Linked DNA regions of Homo sapiens: region 1 is linked to region 2. The links are contacts of gene promoters, found by promoter capture Hi-C in blood cells and fetal thymus (Javierre and others, 2016). All regions are on one chromosome and are shown on one strand. Each heading gives the region's core, a stretch centred on a gene start or on the middle of the fragment in contact. The rest is flanking DNA. Distances are from core to core; before and after follow the strand shown. Region 1 has its middle 16 kb from the start of ADAMTS16-DT. Region 2 holds the start of ICE1 (interactor of little elongation complex ELL subunit 1).

Region 1 (5,857 bases), core at 1,815-4,314, 300 kb after region 2:
TTCTAAAAGTTTTAATTCTTCTTTGCCCCATTAATTAATGTAATTACCTAACTTAAAAAAATTGAACAATGCTATTCATGAATTTATCCTGCTTTATTTTGGTATGTTTAAACTATATTGATTAATATATAAAACTAAAATTTAAATTGAAAGTGTACTGATTAATTCAAATTTAGAGTATTTTGTTGAGTATGTTTATATAAATAATAATAAGAAATATTTGTCAATTGTGTATTGGGGGGTGTCTGTGTGTTGTCCCTAGACATACTGTAGTGTAAGACCTAAAAAGGGTCACTATTATATGCTGTCTTGACATCTGGTAAAATTGACAACCTTCCTTTTCACTGGGATGAAGCAGTGTCTGCTTATTCCTGAGTAGAAGATTTCAGTCTTCTGCCATCTCGTGGAATCGTTCAAACAGGCCAATCACACCCTCCCATGGGAACAGGGGCACCTCATCCTCTTGATACTACAAAGTCTTCTCCACAGCCCTTGTTGTTCAGTCTGTTCCAAGTGCAGCCCCACGTGACCTTCCATGGAGTGCAGCGTCCTCCTCCCCAGGCTGTGGGTGTAGGTGACTAATAAACGTTCCCCTCTGCCCAGCACCATGTGTCATGCACTTGGCCCTCCCCATAACCTTAGGGCAGGAATTCCTCCCTCACCAATGGGGCAAAAAAGAAGCAATTAAAACACGTTTGCCTCCCTTTTTACGTTTTGTTTTTGGTGCTTTAGCCACTTGTAAAATTAACTGGACATTTTCCCAAATGATTTCTGTGTTCTGGAACATTTTAAACAAGTGAAAATTATCTGCTTCTTCATGATTTGACAAAACACTTGTACAATTATTAGAGTCTGATTTATTTTTTGGAGGAAATTTTTTGCCTAACTATTCAATGTGTTTTATTGTTAATGGCCTGTTGTGCCTTCCTCCATCATCTTAAGAGCTTGTTTGGAGGTTTTAGCAGGGGAGCATAATTACTCACGTAGGTTTGACTGAAGACCAGTCCTCTTCTACTGGGGTTGGCTGTCCTCTTGGACTGAGTGTGCAGCTTTGGGAGAGATGCACATGGAGCAGTGAGGGATGAAGGGGACATCTAGCTAGCCAGCCAGATCAGCCCAATCCACCCTGGTGACACATGTTGCAGCCAGATTGCCTTCACTTCCTCTCCGTCTTCTTGAAGCAGTTTTTCAGTTTATGTTCTCCTATAAGAGAGTTCCTTTCATTGAGATCTTCAATCAGTTTAGAATAGTTTCTTACTTTTTTATTAGTCTCTCATTAATCATGTTTAATTATGAATAATTATCTACTTATTGAGAATCCACCATGGAGGTTCCTTCCCCATTAAGCTTATTACTCAGTGGGAAAGACAACATTGAACAGTTAGTTTCAATGTTTCACTGATCACATATTTTGAAGAAATACAGAGGGCTGTGTGAATGGTTACTGTGCCTTATAATTTTATTTTTGCACTTTATATTTTATTAAGAATATATTTATTAATTGGGCTCTTTTCCAAACACGTTGCAAATTCATGATAATATATTTAATGTAAATACATAAATATATGTGTCTTTCCTATCTACATTTATAAATATTTTCATCCACAGTTTTTTGGTTTTTTTTTCTGCAGAAAGGGTCTTCCTCTGTTGTGCAGGCTGGAGTGCAGTGGCACAATCAGCTCACTGTAGCCTCAAACTCCTGGGCTCAAGCAATCCTCTTCCCTCAGCCTCCCAAGTAGCTAGGACGGGAGATGCATGCCACCATGCTCAACTGATTTTTCAATTTTCTGTAGAGATGGGGCCTTGCCTTGTTGCCCAGGCTGGTTGCAAATTTCTAGCCTCAAGCAGCCCTGCCGCTTTGGACTCTCAAAACACTGAGATTATAGGCGCAAGCCACTGCACCAGGCCTACCCCCAGTTTTGATCAGTAAAGTCTTCATTCTTGTCCATGTGTCCTCCATTGTGAAGTTAATTTTCCCCAATTTAATGTTTGTTAAATTGGGGTTTCATCTTAAAACCTAAATGTATATTTAACATAACAGTGTGTTTTATCACACCTCCTCTCTATCCTCCTCCATCCTCATCCCCAATCCCTGCAAAGAAAACCCCTGTCACTGGATGTTGGAGCCACATCAATGACATTGTAGAGTACAGGTATCTGGCATCTGCTTGAGTCCTGATTCTGTTCTTTGTAATTCGGAAGCCCATTACGTATGTTGTTGAGCATCCTTTGCTTTGTATATAAATTATCTCCTGGCATTAATTTGATCTTTCTCTTCTTTTGTTTCCTATATTACTTAACTTGCATTAAAGTATATTTTTTGATTTTTCTGAGTGTCGATTCCTTTTTAATTTGCTCCACTGTGTTTATACAGTTTGCTTCTGCATATTTAGTTTTCACGACAAAAAAAGTCTCTAAAAAGTCTCTATTAACTGAGTAAATCATTATATGTTTTTCACCTTCACTTTTAGCTCATATTTTTTAGAACTTCATGCTCTTGTATCAACAATTTAGATATTTAGCCCAGAACACGTCAACCACTGTACCTCACAGAGTGGAGGCCAACGTGGAGTGAGGAGTTCCCAAGGCAGAGGAGGGAAAATCTTGAACTGAAGTCAAACTATCATGGGTGAGGAACACTTGGGACAAATAGTGCATGTTTGACAATTTATATCTGCTCCTTACATTACCAAAAACATCAACTTGGAACAGAAATTGTAAACCACAGCTTTTTTTTCTCTCAGACATGTCATGTTGTGATCTGACACGTACTTTTGCAGAGGAGAAATCTGGAAGCAAGTTCGGATTTGTTATTTTATTGGTAACCCCTTTTGCTCTTCCGACTGGATCCTCATAGGATTTTCATGTGTCTCTGACCTTGTGTTTTTCAAGATGTGTCTGGCTGTGCATTTTGCCATTCATTTTGCCTGGAACAACATGAACTTTTTTGAGCCCTACACTCAGTTTTGCTTTGTTTTCCAGCTTTAGAAAGATCTGTATACTTATGTGCTCATTATTGAGGACGTATAATATTAAATGAGTAGTGTCTAGCATTAAAAAAGATAAGCTGAGAGTTTATACAACTGTTGAAACCATAAAATGACAAAGACAATTACTCTAAAAACTATATATGCATATGTATCTTTAGCTAAATGAGGTTAATAAAAATGGTACGCTTCATATTGTTCACAATAATTTCAAGGATCAGAAAGGGAAGAAGTGGCGGAAAAGTGAAGTGAAATTCTATGAAATTCTGTCTTCCAGATGAGGGAATACTGTTTTATTCATAACTGAAAATCAGAAATAAACTAAAATCCTTTTGAAAAGTCAAAAGAAATATATTGTTGATAAAAAAGAGCAGAATATATTATAGAAGTAAATAGACATTGGCTACTTAGAAAAAAAGCCAACTGTAGCAATAGAAAAATTAAAATTAGAAGGCATAAGATGAATAGAATATCCAAAAAAACTTAATCTGTTATACGCAATAGCTTAAATTTGTTTATTACAAAACAATGTCTTAGATTTTGTAAAGAATTGAAATTAACAATATACTCTTAAAATACACACATACTGCAAATGAAAACTGAAATATAAAATTAAATTAATTGTTCCACTAATATTAAATTAATTTAAAATATTTTTTCAGGTAAGTACATAGCAGGGAGAACAGGATATGAGCATGGATGCATTTCTTGAGCTTCAAAAGTCTTCATGTTTCCATCTGTGTAGTGGGCATGATAAAAATACAATCCAACTCAGAAGGCTGTTATGAGAATAGAATAGATTAATATTTGTAAAGAACTTAGAACAATACCTGGAACATAGGAACTGCAATGTAAGTTTAGTAAAACTTTAATATAAATGAAATTTAATACATTTAAATGAAAAATAATACAAATTATTAAAAAATAAAACAAATGGGAAAAAATAGCTGGCAGTATCCGATCAGTAAAGACCAAATTCAAAATCAACATGAACATTTTCTTTGCTCTAAATGTTGCTTCCAAATCTGGTTGATTTACATGGGAAATAGTTCCAGTGATCCTTCCAGGATAAAGATTGCAGCTCTTGAACAGAATTTAGCATTCCTGCATCCCAAAGACCACAAACTGCACAGCAAATCTGTTGTGACAAATCTGATTCATTTTTCCCATATCGTATCTCATTTGTAAGTACCTTGAACGAATGGGAAAACTTCCCATCAGATTCACAAAAATTATAGGAGAAGACAACCCAGTCTTAATCTTTGCAAAAGCATATGGGAAAAGTCTGGATTATTTTCAGAGATAATGAATATCATCCATGATGTTGCAAATACCACAGTTTATGATGTTCTTCATGCCCTGGGACAGATTCAAGTGGAAAACTTTGATATGTACAGCTAATTAGCATCAAGACGCCATTGTGAAGTGATTTTAGTTCAGCTGTCCCATTCTATCTTCGAGAGATGAAAAAATTCAAGTTTCCAAATTATGAAATTCCAACTTGGTAAGCATACGATTTAATTTTATGGAGTAAGACCAGCGTACTTATAATAACAGTATTGTTTCTTTTATGAACAAAATTAATAGTGTGTAAAATCACTAGAGTACAAAACTCTAATTAACTTCTGATAACTGAGCAATAATTTCTCATGAGAAATTTCAATGCCTAATTTTCACATCTTAATAATCAAAATAAAAATGTCTCAGTCTCTATCTTTTTCTATCTGTCCTCTCAAAAGAACTGATGAATTTGACTATTGTTTCTGAAATATCCTTAAACAAAATCAAGCTTGATAATGTACATATCTGATAATTTCCTTTAACGTAATTTAGAATGTAAAAAACTGCATATATAACAATTAAAGCAAAGTAAATCAATGGAATTGTAGATGACACTTTTTCAAATGCTATCTGACTTAAACCTTTAACATATCTCTCTAGCAAGGGCAGACACTCTGATTGTGAATCACTAATTTGGACATTGAAAAATCACTGTGTATAAAAAGCATTCTTGGTGAAAAACAACAGGCCTGGGGAAATGTCATTCTCTTTTTTTCCTATCCCTTCTGAGTCATATGGTTTGACCATACTGATGTGTTTTTCTCAGAGGAGATAATCACTCCCTATCCCCTCACTCTAGTTTATGTTCTTTATCACTCTTCTACTGCCTGGAATCACATAACATAATTGTTCAGTGCCCTGTTGATCATTTGCATTCCCCCTAGAATGTCTTGATCACTGCTGTATCTCTTGTACTCAGAGAGTGCCCAGCACGTGGTGAGGTTGAATACCTGTTAGTTGCCTGGATGATGGAATGGGTCTACATACAAGTTTCCTTTTTGCCTTTTATGATATTCAAAAAAATCCATGGCTATTATTTTCCTGGAACAGTAATAGAAGAGCTGATATCCTCCAGCCTGTCCTCAAAAACTTCAAACTCTGCTTTCATGATAGGCAAAAAGTAGGAGCTCTCACTATGTATTTTAGTGGTGCAAATTGTTGAAAGAATGACCTTATTTTTTCTGCCCAGAAACACTGTGGCTGGCATAGAAAGCCCTCAATTGCCAGTGGAATGCTTATTAACCATGGACATTCAATCTCTGTACCCCTTCTCTCATTCCTTCCCTCAGCAGTCAGCACAGAGTAGAAGAGAATTTAGACCTTTATATTTTAGGACATGAAGAAAGTTTAAGCCTTTATTTATTTATTTATTTATTTATTTATCTTTACCAAATAGCCAGACTTCAAGGAGATGTTTAAGCCTTTCAATTCAATGTATGCCGACATATTTTTAAATTATTTGGGCTGCACCTTTTTCATTCTTTAGGATGGGATGACTAGAAGTGAAGAAGGGTTAATCAGGTTCCAGG
Region 2 (6,172 bases), core at 3,673-6,172:
TTATGGACAGGCTCAAATCTGTTCCAAGGACAACCATACATCAAACTCACTGAATCTAATCTAGATACATGAGATGAACAATATAATCATGTGTTTCAAACTCTCATCTGGATCCCCAGGAGAATCCAACTGTTTTGCACTGCAGTGAAGTCAGCAAATATGGGCCTCTCCTTCATCAGAATAAAGAGACTATGTCAGCTTCACTAGCTTGACTTAAACACACACAACTTAAGACTTTACTTAACCATACATAATACATAATATGACTAGAGTGAGGACCCACACTGTTATATCTGACTGCCAAAGTTCTGCAACCCAGAACTTTGGGCATTGGGCTATGGATCAGCAATGAACTACTGTAATCAATGAGCGTAACAAAACAGATATGAAGTGATTTGTGAGACTACGAGCAAAAGACACAGAAAATGTAGTCAATCTGCACACTTCTGAATCAAATAATGATCTCTGCAAAGGTACTGTTATCTCTTCAACAACTAAAGAAAAAAAGGACAGGGAGGATTAAGAAATGAAAGGAAGATTTTCAGTGCAAGCAAACCACTATTCAAGACAGAGAGGCAAGTTAGCCTAACATTACAGTTCAGAATGAAGTCACAACACCAATATGGTTGCCTACCATTGGAAAGACTGACTCCTATGTTACACTTGTAAATTCTCTGCATGATCAAAAAGTTAAAACTATAGCACAGAATATCTTCTCTCTGTACCTCTTTAGTTTCTCTCTCACACGAAAGTTTAATTGAAATATGGAACTTCACGTAGTTATAATACATGCGAAAATTATTTCCAAAAAGCGGTTATCTACTAATTGACCAAAAGAATTGCTTTTCCTTAATTCTCATTCTTTCCGATCTTGGTTCCCTCTGGAACTCTTGATTCCCTCTGGAACGCACTCCCTGTTTAACCCTCTAACATACTTTATCTGTTTCTCCTTTCCTCACCATTCCATGTTCCCCTTCATCAAAGGCCACACATCAGCTAGTTGGTTTTCCGTCACTGACTCTAATGATAGCATGTAATCCCATGAATTGGCCTCATGGTTTCAAAGATTCCTTTAAGTGACAGAACATAATGCCCCATTTTCCTATCCTCACACCTCCCTTCTGTCAAATAAGCTTTTTTTTTTTTTTTTTGAGACGGAGTCTTGCTCTGTCACCCAGGCTGGAGTGCAGTGGTGGCACCATCTCGGCTCACTGCAACCTCGGCCTCCCAGGTTCAAGCAATTCTCCTGCCTCAGCCTCCTGAGTAGCTGGGATTACAGGCGCATGCCACCATGCCCGGCTAATTTTTGTATTTTTCGTAGAGACGGGGTTTCACCATCTTGGCCAAGCTGTTCTTGAACTCCTGACCTCGTGATCCACTGCCTTGGCCTCCCAAAGTGTTGGGATTACAGGCATGAGCCACCGCTCCCAGCCCAGATAAAATTCTTACACTGAACACAGTGCACATCTAACCTGGCCTGCTATTTCCTTGAGGGATATTAGGGCACCTTGGAAGCACTGTGTTCCACAAACATTAAATCTGAAAATGGCTGAACACTCCTAGTTCTGATGTCATTCCAACTTCAGTCCCTTCCACCTTGATTTCCTCTTCCTCCTGTATCTACCACAGTTCTCATGGTCATTTGAGTTTTAAACCTCGGGACCTTCCATTTCCTGACATGAGACCTGCCCATTCTTTACACTGTCTCATATTCAGAACCTTTTTCTTCTTTATTCCCCTTCCCAGGAACCTTCAATTACTTCAGACTTTTGTTATCACTATTATGTATTAGTAAAATAATTTACCATACCTAGTTGCACCCCCCTTCAATCCATCCTGCATACCACCGTTACTTCTACTACAAGCACTGTCCTAACGTAACTATGCAAAAACCTTCACCATCCCATAACACTGACAGAAATAAGTACAAGAATTTATGATGGTTACCATTCAAGGTTCTCTATAAACTGCCAGGAACCTATTTTTCTAGACTCACTTTGCACAACTACAGAATTCCTCCAGAGACTCTACTCGTAACTTTCCCCTAAAAAGGTAATCCAATTCCAGGCCACAGAAAATCCAAATGCAATAGTGTCCTGACCTAGAGAAGAACTCTGTAAACTAAGGCCCTACTCCAGTGTTTATAATGTTTCAATGGAACACAGGCATACTCATTTCTTTGTGAATTGTCTACAGCTGCTTTCACATGAAAATGGCAGAGCTGAGCAGTTCTGAGCAAGTCCCCAAAGCCTAAATACTTGTGATCTTGCTCCTTACAGAAAAAGTTTGCAGACCTCTGGATCTAGGATTACTCTTATTGATGTTTTGAGAACCCACAGCAGGAAATGTGGCAAGGGTAGAAGGAAGGAGATTCAATTTCTAGGCCATACATTAGAGTAGTTCACACCACGGTGGAAGCAGTGGAGATGTTGAAAAGTGGGTGAATAATGAAGGCAGAGCGGACACAATCTGATAAACTGGATACAGGTTATGAGAAAAAAAGAGCTGCACCAAGGATGCCATCTAGTTTCTGGCCTAAGCAACCAGAAGAATACAGTTGCTAAATTTAACCATAACAGATCCATGACTGAAAAGCACAGTTCACATCAGTAGTTCTTCTGCACAAAAGCCTCCAATGACTCACCATTTCCATCGCCCAAACCCCAACAATGGTCTACAGGAGCCCACACAATCAGGCCCTCCTCCTACCTTCCTGACTCCCAGCATTCACTCCGCTCCAGCTTCACTGGCCTTCTTGCTCTTCCCAAGCACACCAAGCCAGCTCCTGCTACAGTTCTTCACATCTGATGTTTCCACTGTATGGGAGACTTTTCTTCCAAGATTTCTACAGAGCTTATTATTCTCTCACCTTTGCTCCAATATAAACGTTCCAGGACTCCCTACTTAAATTCCAACAGCCACTGGCCTAGTCCTCACCCATTCATTCCCTCCCCATCTCTGTTCAATTCATCAACAACGTTTTCATTACCCTCTAACATAACTCATTTGTTTCATTTATCCTGCCACCCTCCTAGAACGGAAGCTCCAAGAGATCAAGAATTTTTGTCTTTTTCTCCCCTAATGCCATAATTGCAGTGTCTAAAATACGGCAGGTGATCAATAAATGTTTGTTGAGTGAATTGGCTCGAATAATAAATACAATGTATTAAAGATTCGGGAGAACTCCAATCACGTTCCTGGGGTGGTGGTGGCGGGGGCGGGGGGGCGTTATAAGATACCTACACAATGCAGCTCAGTGAAGGCAATGATCTGTTAGTTCTCCTTCTACTCACAAAAGCAGCACATTTCCTTCCTCCCCTTCCTTCAACACTTAAAATGTTTGCAATCAGTTCACAGATATTGCACTTAAAATGCAAACCAAGTTTCTCGGCATGGCCTACCTAGCCTGCACTCCCGTCTGGTCTCATCAACCATCTTCCGTGTGCACTATGCTCATGCCAACCATACCATGTTCTGCTCATCAAAGACACCCTGCTCCTTCTCACCAAAGGAACCTTTCCACCTGTTAATCCCTCTATCCAGGAAGCTCTTCCCACATCTCTTCTGACAGCCCGATCCTTCCCATTATTCAAATATCTGAAAGTTACTGACTCAAAAATTCCCTACCTGACTACTCTAGCTAAGAGACAAGACCAATATTCCAACATCCTCCTTTATTTTCTAACACCTAAAATCTTCTGAGGCCTTATTCACACATATGCATCTTACTTATGAGAGATCCTATTTTGTTCACCACAATGTCTGTAGTTCCTAGAACACTAGGCAGAGTAGGTAATGAGGTGCTGGTGAGTTCCGTTTTATCACTGAAACCGCGATAGTAGGAAGTTAAAAGAGACCCCCGACATCAGGCAGCTAGGAGAGTCGTGGGAAATGAGGGGCACTATTGCCCAAGTACCACCCCATAAGATCTGGAGCCATACTCTAGCAATTCTCCCTTATGTCACTCTAAAGAAGAGCCCACGCCGCTGTTAGAAACCTCCAGTCTCTGCATGCCTTTCATAAACTACTTTTATCAAACAACTGACAAGCTACTTGACCAATTACTTGGCTTGCTTTTTAAAAAATTAGCCTCGGGATGGCACATCTGCTATAAGCTGAAACGCCTCCCTAGACTCTTCGAGTCTAAGACTCAGACAACCCACATGTCACGTAAGATTCTGCCTCCAAACAACAAATACTCAGGATGGGCCAGAAGACCAAAGCGTTATCCTCAGGGAGATAACTGCCCTCGGCGTTTCACCTGTCCCTCACTGACCTACGGAGTCTGCCCTAGGGAGCTCCGAGGCCGGGTAGGGAAGGTGGGGGGCCCTCCAAACCTCGCTTACTCCACCCCCACCGTTACACCAGCGCATTCCAGTCAATGAACTCTGGGTTTCAAGCTTAAATAAAGCAAAGAAAGCCGTCCCCAAAACTCATGTAGGAAAAAGAGAGCAGAGAGACGAGCGAGCAAGAGCTACGGTTGGGAAGGGAGAGCAGCGCACTGAGGCACAGCCCGCGCGGCCGGACCCCACATCCCTGCGCTCCCGGCCGGCCGAGCCGAGTCCCCCCCCGCGCCCGGGGCCCCGGGAGGTGCTGCACCTGCTGCAGAGAGGCGCAGCCCTGACATCGCGACAGGTCCGCCGCCGTCCCGGGCGCCGCCGAATGGGTCTCGCCCGGCATCATGGTGCCGCCGCCGGGCCCGGTGGGCACGCACGCCTCAGGGGCCCGCGGCGTCGGCCCCGTCCTGTCTCTGCTGATGCCGCCGGGGCCGCCGCCTGCCAGGCCGCTTCCCGCCAGGTCCGGGCGGGTCCATCCGTGCACAGAGGTCCCCGTGGGGCTAGCAAAAGGCTCTCCGAGCCAGAGCTGCCTCAGGCACTAAAAAGAAACGCTACCCGGCGCGGCCCCCGAGCGCGACGCAGTCCAGTCAGGGCCCCGCCCCGCCCTGGCTCGCCCCGCCCCGCCCTGGCTCGCCCCGCCCCTCCCCTGGGCGCGGGGCTGCCTAAGGCGCTGCCTGAGCAACACCGGGAGAGGAGCTGTGCTATGCGGCGGGGGAGACGCCCACAGAGGAGCAGCCAATAGGAGTAGAAGGATCGAAGGTGCATTCCTACCACTGTTAAGGGTCGATCCTTTATTGCCACCTTGCTGTACGACAGGCTTTCCATAGACACCTAAAGGCCTCCGCTATGTGGGCGGTGACCCGCCCGTGACGTAAGCTCCAGACGCCTGAGAAGTGGAAGGACCCGGCGTCCAGGACAGGAAAGTGCGTGATTTACAGCTAGAGGGATAGGCGCTGTCCCGGAGCCCGTCCTGGGCCAGGGAGCAGGAGAGGGAGGGACTACAGTTCCCGACGCGCTGCGGGGCGGGCGGAGATCGTGCGCTTCGGCGCCAGTTGCACGGCCTTAGCAGCCAGTGGCGGCTCCCCTGCTCCTGTAACAGTCCCCTTGTCTTCTGACCTTTCGCTCCTCGGTCATGTGTCCTCGCCGGTCGCCGCGGCAGCCAGTGATGCCCGAGCGGCGGGTTCCCAGGCCCAGGTGTGGGCGCCACCGCCCACCATGCGCCAAGCCCAGAGCCTGGTTGAATCGTTCGCCACCTTGTCTACCCATTTTGGCCATTATCCTGCCACCTCCAAATCCTGTTTTTGACACTTCTCGGGAGAGAGAGAAAACGGAAAGATAAAGGAATAAACTCCTCGTGGTCGTAGTTAGTGGGTAAATTCAGATCTCGTTTGAACCGAGGTTTTTCTTATCTCCAGCCACCGTATCCACCACCACCAGAATCGTCTTTTTAGTCATCACAGCTGGTCGCCGTCAGTACCTTGTTCAGAAGCCTCTCGCAGCTTCCATCGTGTGGTTATACAATCCAAATTCCTTATAAAGTCCAAATTCAAGAGGAGGAATGCACGTTTAGTTAAGTTAATGTCTAGACCTTACCAGCCAATTTCTAGCTCCTCAGTATGGAAATTGCAACTGAAAACACCCCTTCCAAAAAAAGCAGTCTGCATTTTTCTCTGAGTTTTCTTCTCCAAATTTCGCACCCCTGACCTTGCTTACACACTCTGGATACCACCTGCTGTGGAGTGGCGGAAGCAGACATCCAGCGATAGCTAAGTTTCCTGTCGTTGACACCCAAGCAAGACAGGCGTGTACCTAACTGAGGACCTGCCGGTGATAGA

The links. The method cuts DNA at HindIII sites, captures the fragments that hold promoters and counts their contacts. A CHiCAGO score of 5 or more calls a contact.
Region 1: a contact is called between a fragment that was not itself captured here and the fragment with the promoter of ICE1 in region 2, in 1 of 17 cell types (M2 macrophages). The highest score is 6.3, in M2 macrophages.

What each region holds. Positions count from the first base shown.
Region 1 is chr5:5,121,353-5,127,209 of GRCh38, reverse strand. It overlaps the pseudogene RN7SKP73. Among named protein-coding and RNA genes, the nearest start is that of ADAMTS16-DT, 16 kb to the left of the region's middle. The HindIII fragment of the contact is 3,429 bases long and covers 1,350-4,778 here.
Region 2 is chr5:5,421,427-5,427,598 of GRCh38, reverse strand. It overlaps ICE1 (interactor of little elongation complex ELL subunit 1), which reads right to left and starts at 4,922. Exons shown (of 19, transcript NM_015325.3): 1 at 4,600-4,922. The coding sequence starts at 4,683. It overlaps LOC101929200 (a long non-coding RNA gene), which reads left to right and starts at 5,470. Exons shown (of 6, transcript XR_001742583.3): 1 at 5,470-6,172. RefSeq lists silencers at 4,490-4,629, 4,690-5,019 and enhancers at 5,050-5,299, 5,165-5,675, 5,676-6,172. The HindIII fragment of the contact is 2,607 bases long and covers 4,403-6,172 here.